Regions from separate parts of the Homo sapiens genome. Here regions 1 and 3 are each linked to region 2. The links are contacts of gene promoters, found by promoter capture Hi-C in blood cells and fetal thymus (Javierre and others, 2016). All regions are on one chromosome and are shown on one strand. The core of a region is centred on a gene start or on the middle of the fragment in contact, and the rest is flanking DNA. Distances in the headings are between cores, read along the strand shown.

Region 1 (2,700 bases), core at 38-2,537, 640 kb before region 2:
TTATTCTGCCCTTCTGTCTGATGAAGGGTCCCATCCTGAAATTTGGAGCTAGTTGCCCCAGCCAAGGGTCAGGTGCTTCTCACTTCATCCTCAGCTCACCCCCGTGTGGGGTGTGGACTTGGAGCTGAAGGGCAATGGCATGAGTCCAGCCTCTGACACTTCCTAGCTGAGAGGTAAGTCAACCAGTCTCAGCCTAAGGTCCCTCATCTGCAGAAAGGAGCATGGGCCTCCCTGGATTGTACGGATGCTCAAACAAGATAAACCATGCTCAAGGGTCCAGCACGGCTTTAGTACAGCATCAGCCAGACGCTGGGAGCTGTAATATCCGATATGGCCATGGGGTGGAGCCAGATACACATGTATCTCATGAACCGAGGGCTTCAAAGTGACCCAAAGTTACAGACGTGCCCAAACTCCAACCACCCTCAAGATCCAACTTACAGAGCCTGTGAAGGGGAAGGAGTCACAAGGTCTCTGGATGCTTGTCCCTTTCATCTCGGACTATGTCTATGAATATCTCCCATTCCCACAGCCATCCAGCCCCTCTCTAGATCCTGACTGTTGCATGCTTGGACCACTGCAATAGCCAACTGGTTCTGCTAGGACCTCAGAATGTCAGAGCCAGGAGATAGCCCAGAGACCCCTAGGTTCTGCCCATTTACCTGATGCTGAAGTGTAGCGATTGTTAATGACTGCCTCAGGCCTATCTCTTCTTGGCCTAGCCCTAGCCAAAAATCCCTTACTCTCACGGAAGATGAAATTTCTTTCAATCCTTGAAACACAATCTCAGGGACTCCCTCTGGCCTGGATGCCCTCCTCTGCCACTCTCCTTGAGTAGTGAGCTCTTGCTTTAGTCTCAGCCTGAATGCCACCTCCTCAGGGAGGCCTTCCTGACCACCTCAGCAGGCTGGTTTGTTGCTGCGCAAGGCCCTGCACCTATTACAATCAGTTGTTCTTTTTCTGTCTTCCCCATTATCAGCAGCTGTTATAAGCCCTGTTTTATAGGCAAGGACATTGAGGTTTTGGGAGTTTAAATAATTCCCAGGCCACACAGCAGGTGGGGGAGGAGCCAGGGTTTGCCAGAGCCTATAATGGTCTGCTGCCTCCTGTGGAAGCAAGCCAGGCCCATGCCATGCTATCCTCCCCCTTAGACCACCAGGGCCCCGAGAGTGGGGACTGAGCTACTTCTGAAGTCCCGGGCCTCACATAGAGATGATCTAGAAACACTTGCATGAACACACGCCTCCCACAAGAATGCAACAGAGGAAGGCTGGTCCCAGTGGCCGAAGACCCAGGTTCTAGGTTCAGTTCTGCCTTAAACTCCCCATGGAGGGGTAACTACCCAGGGACTAGGAACATGGAGGGTAGTGATAACCACAGGGGAACCAAGACCCACCTTGAACACAACATAACAGCAAAGCAGGCCTCAGCGCTCTTCCAGGGCTTACCCCTTCCGCCAGAGGCTCCAAAGGGCTCTGTAGGCCTTCCTTGGGGGTAAGAGAGTGGGCACATGGGGGTCTTGAGGTTTCAGAGAACATAGAATGCACAAGCCCAAGAAATTAATGGGGGACCCAGTCTACCCCCACACACTCCTGCACCAGGATACCCTTCCCTGCCACCTTCCTCCCCACCCTGAAGAAAATCCTGTGCCAGGCCTGAAAACAGAGTCATCTTCTCTCCCTGGACATGGGCCTCCCAGGCGTGTGCGCTATGAGCTGGGCTGGACTGGGGGTGTTTGAATCTGCTTCCCTCCAGCTCGCCGACCCAGCATGACAGCTGAGCCTGCAGAAGTCCTTGTTCCCCACGGCCAATGCCCCTTTCAAGTGGGTTGGACACAGCTTCCTGTGGGCATTTTCCTGCCACCTGCCCACCCAGGTTGAAGGGGGCATGGCAGGGGATGGACAAGGTTTATTTATCTAACGTTCTGTTCCCTCCCTCAGCCTCCCACAGCTCCAAGGTCCAGCTGGCCCTCCTGCCCATCAACATAAAGAGGCTATTTGTGCAGCAGCCAGTGGCAGGGGGCTGCAAGGACAGTGTGGCCCACGTCCCTGGCCAGATGGGTGGTGGCAGGGCTTTACAGAGCACACAGAGCCATCTTGATGATAGGTGTCTGACCAGAATGCAGCCAGGCATGTGTGGGTGGACTTTCTACCCCAATCCCCCAGGAGAGACAGGGACTTGGGATGCCCTGGAGTTTCCAACAGCCTGCAGGGTGGTAGGGGCAGCCTCGCTCCACAGGCAGCACCAGCCCTGGCCAGGACTCCCAGAGCAGAGAGGGATGCGGTGAGATGCTCCTCTCCCAGCTCTCACCTTCAGCTCGGCCAACCCAATTCCATTCCCCCAGCCTTTTTGGGGTGGCTGCTCTGTACCCAGGCCTGGGCTAATGGAGGAAAGGAGAAGAAAAACAGAAAATCCCATTTCCTGAGCTTTTGTGATGGGTTAAGTACATAGGGGCATTTTCTACGCATTTGCTCCCTTGAACCTCACAATCATTTTGCCACATGTACCACGGGGGCCTTGCACAGATGGGGAAACAGACTGGAAGAGGAGAAGTGAGCCATTCAAGCTCACAGGCAGAGCTGGGTGTCCCCACAGTTGCCACTGCAGTTAATTTAACTCAATTCACAATTTCAGCTTTGACCCTTGAGGTGATTAGCCTACGCGGTCCCTGGCATACAGCTGGCACTCAGTAACTACCTG
Region 2 (2,700 bases), core at 6-2,505:
TAAGTACCCAGGGCTTGTACTAGGCTACTGGGCATCGTTGTGCTCTTGGAAAACTGTTCATCTGGCCAGATGAGTTTGAAAATATCACACCCTCTAGATAGTTACAGCCTTCTAGGTTCATGACTTGGCTGGCGTACAGAGATTTTGTGAGAATAAAAAGTGCACACCTTTCTCCAGTAGGGCACATGGCACGGGAAAGAGAGTAGAGACAGTTTTTCAGCCTCCATTGCCCCATGGCTGGATGTGTTTGTGCAGGACGCAGCTGCATAAGCAAATGTCCCTGTGCATCCCTATAACTTTAACAATCTTACTCCTTGGCATATATTTCAGAGGAATTTGCACAGAGGTCCTTAAGGGACCACGGACAAAGACGATCATGGCTGTATTACTTGATGTATTGGAGAATTAGAGGCGGCCTTGTTACCTAACACCTGGGGAATGGAAGTGAAGTGTGGTAGATGCCCCTTATGAAACGCTGTGCAGTACTCAGAAGCAATGAACTATATGCTTGCCAATCGCAACGAGGACAGATCCTTAAAAAGAATGTTGAGTGAAAAAAGTAGAAAATAAGATAATCTCCAAAGTCCAGTAGCATTATTTAAACATTTTTAAAAAATACACTGATAAAAATTTTGTACATTTCCCAAAAATACATATGGAAGCACAGCAGCATGAATGCCTATGGGGTTGAGGATAGGGGTTGGGAGTAGGGATGGGGATAAAGGGGGAAAATAAAACCAGAGAGGAGTCTTACACATTTCATGAACCAAGGAGTATAATTATTTCAACTATTTGTACCTGAAGTCCAGAAAGAGTGGAGGCAGAAGGGGGAGAAGAGGGCGAAGAAACGTTTTTGGGAGAGGGGTCCCAGAAGAGAGATTTTCGCGATGTGGCGCTACATACGTTTTTCCAGGATGCCTTAAGCTCTGCACCCTATTTTTCTCATCACTAATATTAGATTAAACCCTTTGAAGACAGCGTCTGTGGTTTCTCTACTTCAGCTTTCCCTCCGTGTCTTGCACACAGTAGCTGTTTTACAAGGGTTGAACTGACTGAAGTGAGATTATTCCTCGTTGTCTCGGAAGGCAGAGTGTAGCCGCCAGTCCTTCCCTCATCCGGAACCTTCTGGTCCACATTTCCTTCCAAGCGTTAGTCCTCGGCTCTCCATGCTTGGCTCCCTAGTGTCACACACCGTCCTTTCTGGGTGGCCTCTTCCAATTCGCCCTCTTCTTTCTCCTGGGTGTCTCCATCTGCCCACACCGTGGGACTCCTCCCAGCCTCTCAGGGGCACCGCCCCCTCACTTCCTTGGCTCCGCCCCATTGGGATATATTTGCATATTTCTCTGAGGAACCCTGCCCAGGTGCCAGCCGCAGAAGCTCCTCCCCTTTCGAATTCCCGCTAGCGCCCCTAGAGGGCGTGTCCGTTGCCAGGCGACGGGCCGACGCGCCGAGCGCGGGTTTCCGCTCGGGGCGGGCGATAGAGACAGCGCGTCGCGCCTTTAGCTTCTTTCCCAGACTCCGGCCCAGCTCCTGCGATCTCCACAGCAGCCTCTGAGGCCGCCCCCAGAGAGCATCAGGATGGCTGAGGTCAGGAGTCAGCGCCCCTCTGTCGCCTTTCCCTTGACCCCTCCCCATTGTCCCTCTCCTACTGACGATTGTCACAAACGGTGATTCCAATATTTCCCCCCATCAACATCTTATTCCCCTGCACCCTCACTCACTCCCGCGCCTTTCTCCGTTGGCTCTGGCCTCTTTACCTCCTGTTTCTCCTTCATTTGTGTGGACACCCCACTATCCCCACTGTGGCATCGGCGCTATGCTAAGTGCGGTAGAAAATTAATGAATTCTGAAATCCACACGTGACATGCACCCAGCCCTAGATTTTTAGTCATGGAGTGATACCATAAGAGAGGCTCACACAGAAATATTGGAGATGTCTTATCTCACAGGGGAAACCGGGAAGAAAGCTTCACAGATGCCTGCTGTCATCCCAATCAATGGCCCTTGTCCACCTGTCACACCCTGATTTCCTAACATGTGATCACCTGCTGTCACACAGCTTCATTAAGGCTCTTCTGCCCATCACCTCTGCCCCGTGTGTTCATTGACTCCTGTGTTAACATCTCGTATCACCCCACCACTCCCCCATATTACAGTACACCCCATTTTCAGCCTCTCCAATGAGGGGTTATTTCTGCAACCCTTCAGTGACTCCCTGCCTGCCCCTTAGCCCCCTCACGTATAACCTCAAGAGCCTCGGGTCCCTGTCATTACTTGCCATTCACAGTCCCCATCCACTATGGCCCTACCCAAATCCTTCATGGCCCCATCAGAGCCCTTCCCCCATCACCCATCCCACGGTCTGTTCCAGCCAGGACCAGCTACATGATTTGCAAGGCCTGATGCAAAGTGAAAACACAAAGTCTCTTCAAAAATTACAAATAATTTTAAGACAGAACAGCAGAGCATTCAACCAAGAATGGGGCCTTTCTGAGCAAGGGGCCCTGTGCAACTGACCAGTTTTCACTCCCATGAAGCCAGCCCAAGCCCCATCATCTTTCAGCACCATCGTGCTCCACCCCCTCCCCACCCCATTCTAGTTACTCTCTTGCTTCCTCTGCACCATTCACATCCCCTCATCATTGCTTTTCCTCCATCTCCAGTCTAGCTTTATAAATTCCGTCTTCCCGTGGTCAACAC
Region 3 (2,700 bases), core at 28-2,527, 660 kb before region 2:
TCAGGAGTTCGAGACCAGCCTGGCCAAAATGGTGAAACCTTGTCTCTACTAAAACTGCAAAAATTAGCCAGGTGTGGTGGCAGGTGCCTGTAATCCCAGCTACTCGGGAGGCTGAGGCAAGAGAACCACTTGAACCCAGGAGGCGGAGGTTGCAGTGAGCTAAGGTCATGCCACTGCACTCCAGCCTGGGCAACAGGGGAGAATCTGTCTCAAAGAAACAAAAAACAAAAAACGAGTGACTTCTAGATGTTGGGCTTGAGCAATGGGGTGGATGGTGCCAGTTCCTGAGATGGGGAAGATGCTGGAAGGAGCAGGTTCAATAGAGGGAAGAAAGATGCAGATAAATTTGAGGCCAAACTGTCCTTCAGTTTTCAAGGTCACCAGCCTTGCTTCCTCCAGAAAGTTCCTGAGAACTTTCTTCTTCTGTTGACTCCACCATCCCTAAGCCTTGCCTCAAGTCTAAGCTCTATGCTCAGTAAGAGATTTACAGTGAACCCCAGAATGGCATCCATTTCCTCTGCGCAAATGTCCCTGGCTGGAGTGACCCTGGGAAGCTTCGTGAGGTTCATTATAGAGCAGAACAGAGCCCTAAACATGGACTCCAATCCTCAGTTTGCCAAGGACTGTGTGTGGGCAGTCACCCCATCGGAGCCTCAGCTTCTCATTTGCAAAATGGGAATCCCACCACCCATCATGTACTGTGGCTCTGATCAGCAAATGAGGAAACGTGAAAATGTCCTCGCACATAGTAGATGCTCATTCGATAACAGCATCTAGCACTTCCAGGGGAGCTTTCTAGGTGGCAGGCAGTGTTCTAAACATGCTTACATATATTAGTTTATCTAATCTTCGTTATAACCATATGAGGTGTGTATTAGTCAGTGTTCTCCAGAGAAACAGAACCAATGGGAGGTGCATAGAGAGCTTGAAGACAGAGGGAGATTTATTTTAGGAACTGGCTTATGTGATTGTGGAGGTTTGAGAGTCCAAAATGTGATGGGGGAGGCCGGCAGAGACTAAGGGAAGAGCTGCAGCTGAGTCCAAAGGCAGCTGCTGGCAGAACTCCTCCTTGCTGAGGGAGGGTGTGTGTGTGTCAGTCTTTGTTCCATTAAGAGGCCTTCAACCAATTGGATGAGGCTAGCCTGCATTATGGAGAGTAATCTGCTTTACTCAAAATCCACTGATTTATTTAAATATGAATCTCACCTAGAAAACACCTTTGCAGAAACATCTAGAATAATGCTTGACCAAATATCTGGGCACTGTGGCCCAGCCAAGTTGACACATAATAAACCATCACAAAATGGGTATGAATATTATCCCAAATGTACAGAAGAAGTAATGGGCACAGAGAGGCTAAGAAATCTACCCAAGGTCACAGAGGAGAGAAGCCAGACTCTCAACTCCAGCTGTCTGGCTTCAGAGCTGGCATTTTCAACCATGACACTAAGTGGCCATTATCATAAGCACACCAATATAAATTAAATTTCTCCATCCATCCTTTTCCTGGCGTGAGAGTGGAAGACAGAGAAACTGGGGGTTGGCTTTCCCTGGGGGAGGCAGCCTGGGTGTGGCCCTGCATTGCTTAGGAAGCAGCACAGAAGCTGAGCCCCAGAGATTGTGGCGGGGGACCTGAGAGGTTATTTGTTCCAGCTCTTGCCTTTATGGGGGTAACTGAGGCCCAGCATAGAGAAGGAATTTGCCCAAGGTCACATAGGGAGAAAAGTGGCAATGGAGGCAGGACTAGGTCCCAGGCCTTCAGAAAGTGCTACTGCTGCTGCTGCTGAGAACTGATACTTGTACAGTAGTTATTCGGTGCCAGGACTATTCCACATTAACATACTTAATCCTCTATGTGTGAGGCAGATAACATTAGCATTTTTGTTTTAAAGAAAATGAGGAAACTGAGGCACAGAGAAGTTATGAAACTTGCCTAAGGTCACACAGAGCCAGAATTTGAGCCCAGGTTCAACCAGGACACTATACGTCTGAGGCCCAGGGCAAGCTTCCTGTGTGGGCGGTGACAGAACACAACCCCCATTTTGCTGCGCCTTCCATTCTCCCACTTGAGACCTGCCTGGAGTGACAGTGGAGGAATGCTCTTCCCCAGGCTCACCCCACGGTTCACAGGAGGAAATGGCCTTCTGCACCAGTGGGTGTGCCTGCCTGAGACACCCCAGACCCAGGTGATAGGCAAGTGCACACACACCTCATCCCACAGCTAGACATGTCCCAAACTGGTACACAAATACACACAAACACAGACTCCAACCCATAACCAGATATATCTCAACCACACACACACCCCCAGCCTATGCACCCAAACAAGTAAACATACCCTCACAGCACACAGCTATCATGACTCACACATGTGCACAGAACCCCACAGCCACACACGCCCCCAACACATAAACCAGGACACAACTTTCCCTGTCCCAATAGGCACGTGAGCAAGCACTTGTACACACAGAAACATACATATCATACAATTACATCTACCCCACTCTACATCCATCCACCACACAGGGGCACTCCCCTCAACCTATCCACAGGCCAAGGCACTTGGGCACAGGAGCCATTCACAGGAGCCACGTGTTACCTCCTACATCCCCAAGGGCCAGATGTACCCCAAGGTACAGCCACCCTGTCAATATGGCCAATCCACGTGTCAGCACGGATCGCTGCAGCAGTCTGTCCCCG

The links. Contacts are between HindIII fragments. The CHiCAGO score rates a contact against its expected background, and 5 or more counts as called.
Region 1: a fragment that was not itself captured here is called in contact with the fragment with the promoter of CFAP58-DT in region 2 in 1 of 17 cell types (fetal thymus); the score reaches 5.1 in fetal thymus.
Region 3: a fragment that was not itself captured here is called in contact with the fragment with the promoter of CFAP58-DT in region 2 in 1 of 17 cell types (naive B cells); the score reaches 5.1 in naive B cells.

The regions. Positions count from the first base shown.
Region 1 is chr10:103,712,751-103,715,450 of GRCh38, forward strand. The region is part of intron 5 of SH3PXD2A (SH3 and PX domains 2A); the gene reads right to left. Among named protein-coding and RNA genes, the nearest start is that of SH3PXD2A-AS1, 33 kb to the right of the region's middle. The HindIII fragment of the contact is 8,786 bases long and covers 1-2,700 here.
Region 2 is chr10:104,352,320-104,355,019 of GRCh38, forward strand. It overlaps CFAP58-DT (CFAP58 divergent transcript), which reads right to left and starts at 1,256. Exons shown (of 2, transcript NR_108036.1): 1 at 799-1,256. CFAP58 (cilia and flagella associated protein 58) reads left to right here and starts at 1,514. Exons shown (of 18, transcript NM_001008723.2): 1 at 1,514-1,587. The coding sequence starts at 1,579. RefSeq lists an enhancer at 1,184-1,243. The HindIII fragment of the contact is 7,343 bases long and covers 1-1,965 here.
Region 3 is chr10:103,689,453-103,692,152 of GRCh38, forward strand. The region is part of intron 6 of SH3PXD2A (SH3 and PX domains 2A); the gene reads right to left. Among named protein-coding and RNA genes, the nearest start is that of SH3PXD2A-AS1, 56 kb to the right of the region's middle. RefSeq lists an enhancer at 2,442-2,501. The HindIII fragment of the contact is 1,451 bases long and covers 553-2,003 here.